Linked DNA regions of Homo sapiens: region 2 is linked to region 1. Evidence: promoter capture Hi-C in human tissues and cell types (Jung and others, 2019). All regions are on one chromosome and are shown on one strand. The core of a region is centred on a gene start or on the middle of the fragment in contact, and the rest is flanking DNA. Distances in the headings are between cores, read along the strand shown.

What was found. Contacts are between HindIII fragments. The study calls those that stand out against the background at their distance.
Region 2: a fragment that was not itself captured here is called in contact with the fragment with the promoter of FAM124A in region 1 in 1 of the 25 tissues and cell types used here (hippocampus).

What each region holds. Positions count from the first base shown.
Region 1 is chr13:51,221,084-51,223,789 of GRCh38, forward strand. It overlaps FAM124A (family with sequence similarity 124 member A), which reads left to right and starts at 1,315. Exons shown (of 4, transcript NM_001242312.2): 1 at 1,315-1,486. The coding sequence starts at 1,419. RefSeq lists an enhancer at 463-1,253 and silencers at 1,034-1,083, 1,204-1,263. The HindIII fragment of the contact is 11,319 bases long and covers 1-2,706 here.
Region 2 is chr13:51,399,135-51,401,840 of GRCh38, forward strand. The region is part of intron 4 of INTS6 (integrator complex subunit 6); the gene reads right to left. Among named protein-coding and RNA genes, the nearest start is that of MIR5693, 52 kb to the left of the region's middle. The HindIII fragment of the contact is 4,892 bases long and covers 1-2,706 here.

The DNA of each region.
Region 1 (2,706 bases), core at 65-2,564:
TCCCTGGCCTTTTCCTTAGTACCATCTTCCTGAGGATACAACTGGCCCACTCATCAGCCTTCTAGGTAAGTGGCACAGGCTCCAGCTACCTTAAGTGGACTACCTGGCTTCCCTGCTCACTGATAGGGTGTCCTGGGACCAGGCACTCGAACTCGGTAGGGTTTAGTTTCCTTGACGGTAAAATAGAAAAGTAAGCCTGTTTCACAGCACTTCCCTGAGGATCAAATGAGGCACAGTTTGAATTGTTCCCACACAGAGTAAATAAAGGCAGGTTCCCTCCTGGCTGCAAGATAAAAAATGGGCAGGGGAATCTCCCTTGAAGAACTGGCACGCTCCTTTCTTTCAGCTAATGCCCACCAATATGTCCATTGCTGTTTGGGGTGCAAGAAATTTTAGGCTCAGTAAGGACAATTCCTCCCAATGGTTTGGATAGGGCTGTCAGAACTAAATTCAAGTTGTTCGAAGTCTCCTTCCGCCCGCCCTGCCAACTTGCCTCCCTCTTCACCCTCCTAATAGGAGGTGAGCCCCTCCAATAGCGATCATTAACTCACCCTAAGGTTATCCCCTTGCTGCAACAACCCGTGAATTGCAGGTTCATTCAATGCTCTTTAAATTATTTTTAAAGGCTTTTTTTTTTTTAAGTAGCAAAAGAATGCATGACACCTATTGTAAACTGGCAAGTTGAGGGGGTGGGATGCCGCTCAGACGTGTACTGAGAAAGGTGATAATGAATTTGGCGTCAGCAATTCTTCAGAAACTATAAGAAAACACCCAGGTGTTCGAATTGGTCCCAAAAGGGAAACAAATCCTTCCCAGCTTTCACGATGCGCTGAGGTTGGTTTTCTCAGTGCTCCTCCCAGATCAGGAGGTGGGGAACCTCGTGGCAAGCCCTGGGGCTCGGGATTCCCGGACTGTGGGCCTGGGGGAGAGAGGCGGCTCTCGTGTGCACACTTACCCCGCCCCCACAACACACACGCGGTCACGCACCACAGACGGGCACACGCGCTCAGCACAGCCACAGTCGCGTGCAACCAGGAGTGCACACCGCACCCACATCACACCGCATGCACAGACGCACGGGTGTGAGACCACACACCTCGGCCACTCACGCTCACACGCCCCCCACGCGCTCGCACACGCGCTCGCACGCGCACTCCCCGCGCACCGCCGCGCGCACACGCGGGTCCCGCCGGACGGCGAGGGGCGGGGCGGGCGCGGGCGCAGGCGCGGGTGCCCAGCCGGGCGCGGTCGGGAGAGGGCGCGGCGCGGGGTTCGCGGCTGGCGCTTGAGTTGTTTGCCGGCTCCCGGGCCGCCAGACGCTCGGAGGGAGCCCGGCCGGCTCGGACTGGGCGGCCGGGAGGGAGGGCGCCCCGGGTCACGACGGCGCCCGCAAGCCGAGCGCGGCCGGGACGTGCACCATGGACCCAAAGGCGGGCGGCGGCGGCGAGGAGGACGACTGCGTGGACTCGGGCGCCGAGACCGGAGGGTGAGCCGCGCCGGGCCGGGCCGCGGGCGGGGGGCGCTCTCCGAGTTGCGCGGCGGCTCCTCCCCGGACGGGGACCCTCCTGATCCGTGCGACGGGACCGGGGCGCGGGGCTTCTCCTCCTGCCGGATCCCCCGCTCTCTCCTGGGCGGGCCGCGCTGCCCTGGGCAGGGCGGGCACCACCCGGGGGGAGGAAAGTGGAAGGACTCAAGGTTCAGTGCAAGCCCACCCATCCTGTGAGGCGATGCAGAGCGCCAGGCGGATGCAAAGACCCCTTGTCTGCATCGCTAGAGACAGGAGATGCTCTTGCACTTGTTTCCTCCTTCCTCGGGGACTTTCCTCCTGTAGCTCCGGAGCCCCCTGGAGTCCGGCCCTGGAGATCGGGAGAGGAAGAAAAGCAGGGTGGGACACCCGCACCTAAAAGTCTTTCCGAAGTCGGCTAGGAGGATGGCATTTCTCGTTATATGGCTTCATCGTGGGACTTTAATCTGTGCTGCCGAGTCCCCCTCCCCGACTCCTCCAGTCCCGCCGAACTTCCTCACCTCTAAGTGCACCTGTCCCAGCTGGACCCTTTGGCCTGTTGTACCGGCGGGATGGAGATGGTGTTGGGATTAGGATCTAGCCCTGCCTTTTTTTTTTTTTAATATTCTCTTCGCTTCAGCGGACTCAAACAATGGGCTCAAACCTTTGGAGACTAATTAGTTAGTCTCCAAACACTGTTTTCCTGAGCGGAAGAAAAGACAAAATGCCTTTTAGGAGATGAATGTCGTTATAAAGGCTTCCAGGCAGCCTCTGTCTCTAAAGGACTTTCCTGTGCAGAGTCAGCACCACATCCAGGCCGCGGGTACTGACCCAGGAGGAAAGGGTGTTTTTTCCTATCTGGAGTAATCCTGGGGGAGGGCGGGAGCTGCCTAGACTACAGAAAGCCTCATTCCTGGAAGGTCGGAGAGGTTTTAGACTAATCTCAGGATTTGGCAACCCTGTGAGGGCAGGTAGAGAATCCAGGCCCACGATCGACCCAGAGTTCTAACCCAACCCCGGCAAAGCTCCCCACAGGGCCCCTCCTGCCCCACCACTCCTAGCCCAAATGCGGGACTTTACTCCCTAGGGCATTCACCCAGCAATGGGCTTTCTCTGTTATCCAAACTTATTCATAGCTCTCTACAGCACCCAATTATAATCTGGTGGAGTAACCTGATGCTAAATGCCAAACTTCCTTTCTT
Region 2 (2,706 bases), core at 84-2,583, 180 kb after region 1:
GAATCACCTATACTGCTACATACAATGGTAGATCGTTCATTCCTATTGCCATATTGTTTATCTGTATATCATAATTAGTTTTATTTTTTAGAGACAAGCTCTTGTTCTGTCACCCAGGCTGGAATGCAGTCACATGGTCATAGTTCACTGCACCCTCAAACTCCTAGACTCAAGAGATCTTCCTGCCTCAGCCTCCCAAGTAGGTAGGACTACAGGCACGTGCCACCACACTCAGCTCACTTTTTAATATTTTGTAGAGAAGGGATCTTCACCAGTCTGGCCTCAAACTCCGTAATTATCCTTTTGAATTGTTTGGGTATGTTATGAATAGTGTAACTATGAAATTACAGTACATGTATTTGTGGAAAATATATGTATGCATTTCTGTTGAGTATATACCTAGTTGTGGAATTGCTGGATATGAATATGTTTACTTTCATCAGATACTGCCAGTTTTCCAAAGTGGTTATACCAATTTATACTCCTACTAGCAGCGTATAACAGAACCAGTTGCTCTGTATCTCCTTCATCAACACTTAGTTTTGGCTGTCTTTTTCATGTTAGCCATTGTGGGTGTGTGTGTGTGTGCGTGTGTGTGCGTGTGTGTAGTGGGGTGGGGTTTTAATTTCCCTGATGTTTATGGAAGTGGAATACCTTTTCATACGCTTATTGGCCATTTCAACGTGCTCTTTTGTGAAGTGACTATTAAAGTCTTCTGCTTATTATTTTTAATTGGGTTGTCTAGCTTTCTCTTATTGATTTGGAGGATTGTTAATCTATTCCAGATGTCTTTTATTGCAGGGATCCCCAAGTCTGTGGCCTGTTAAGGAATGGGGCCACACAGCAGGAAGTGAGCAGTGGGCAAGCAAGCATTACTGCCTGAGCTCCACCTCCTGTCAGATCAGCAGTGGCATTAGATTCTCATAGGAGCATGAACCCTATTGTGAACTGCACATGCAAGGAATCTAGGTTGTGCGCTCCTTATTTGAGAATCTAAATAATGCCTGATAATCTGAGGTGGAACAGTTTCATTCCAAAACCATACCCACCCATGTCCACAGAAGAACTGTCTTTCTTCCAGGAAACCAGTCCCTGGTGCCAAAAAGGTTGGGGACAGCTGCTTTATTGGATACATTATAGTATTGCAAATATCTTCTACTCTGTTACCTCTTCCATTATTTTAGTGGTATCTTTTGATAAACAGAAGTTATCTAAATATATTTTTCCTTTCACAGTTAGTGCTTTTTGTTTCCTCATAGATAATGAAGATGCTCTCCCATGTTTTCTTCTAAAAGCTTATTATTTTCCCACTTAAAATCAAACCTGAAATACATCTGAAATTGAGTTTGGAGTATGGTCCAAAATAGGGGCAAAGATACATTTTTTTTCCCAAATGGATATCCAATTGATACAGGCCATCCTTTCTATGCTGCACTAGAATGTCACCTCTTTCTTATATCGGGTGACTGTACACGTGGTAGTCTATTTCTGTGTCAAAAACAGTATTACATGGAAGGAAAAAAAGGCAAGATGCAAAATGATGCACAGAATAGCATCTCTACACATTGTTAAAAGTAAACAATGTTTAGAATAGTTTTAGATATGTGTAGTAAAAATAAGAAAATGTGGACTAAATGACTATAAATCAAATTTGCAATTGTTGATTACGGGAAGGGAAAGAGGGAGGAAAGTGACACTGAGTAGGGGAACAAGGGAGACTACACACTATCAATCTGCAATGTTCTGTTTCACTTATTAAATTTTTTAAAATCCAAAACAAAAAGAACAAGGCAAATATGGCAGAAACTTTTATATTCCTTATTCTTATCCAAAGTACTGAAACATATTAATATGAAGATAATTGTCAAAAGCCAGTAAATTATTCAAGTAGTTATCTGTACCTCTTTTCCAATAATGTCATTATTTTATACAAAACCAAAGACAAGAAAACTTCCTATATGCCTCAACTGAACAAGAGAAAGATTAAGTACAGTAATTACTAACTCCAAAGCTCAGACATTTGTAAGGACCCCTAACAAAGAGTTATTCTTGATCAGCCATTAAAATACACTGCAAGAAGGTAGACTACTTCCTGAAAACTATATATGCATTCACTCATCATTTTTTATGTACCTACCAAATATTAGGTATGTTTAGGCTCTGAGGATTTAAAGATAAATAATAAAATACACCCAGTACTTTAAGAGTTCTAAACAGAAGGATCATGTTCCTGAAGGAATCTGTTTCAGAGCTGTATTTAACAGAAAGAAGAAAACTGAGAATCACAGTACTAGCTAACAAGATATTTAATAGGATTTTTATTTCTGAACACTGGATGGGATAAGAGTTTCATAAGAGCTGTTTTCTGAGAGTTAATCCCAAGAAACTCTAGTATGAGTATTCAAATGGAAGTGTCTGAACTAATGATGCTTTAAAAAATATAGCCATTAATAACAATAATACTTTTATAGTGGTTACTATTAGAAGGCGCAAGTTATTCTAAACCCGTTATATATATTAATTCATTTAACCCACAAAATAAACATATGAGATAGGCACTATTATAGTCCTCATTTACAAACAACAAACAGAGAGCTTCAGGACTTGTCTGAAGGTACACAGTAAGTGGTGAGGAGACAGAATTCAAACCCAGGTAAGTCTGGCTCTTAAACACTGTGCTCTTAAACACTGTATTATACTGCCTAA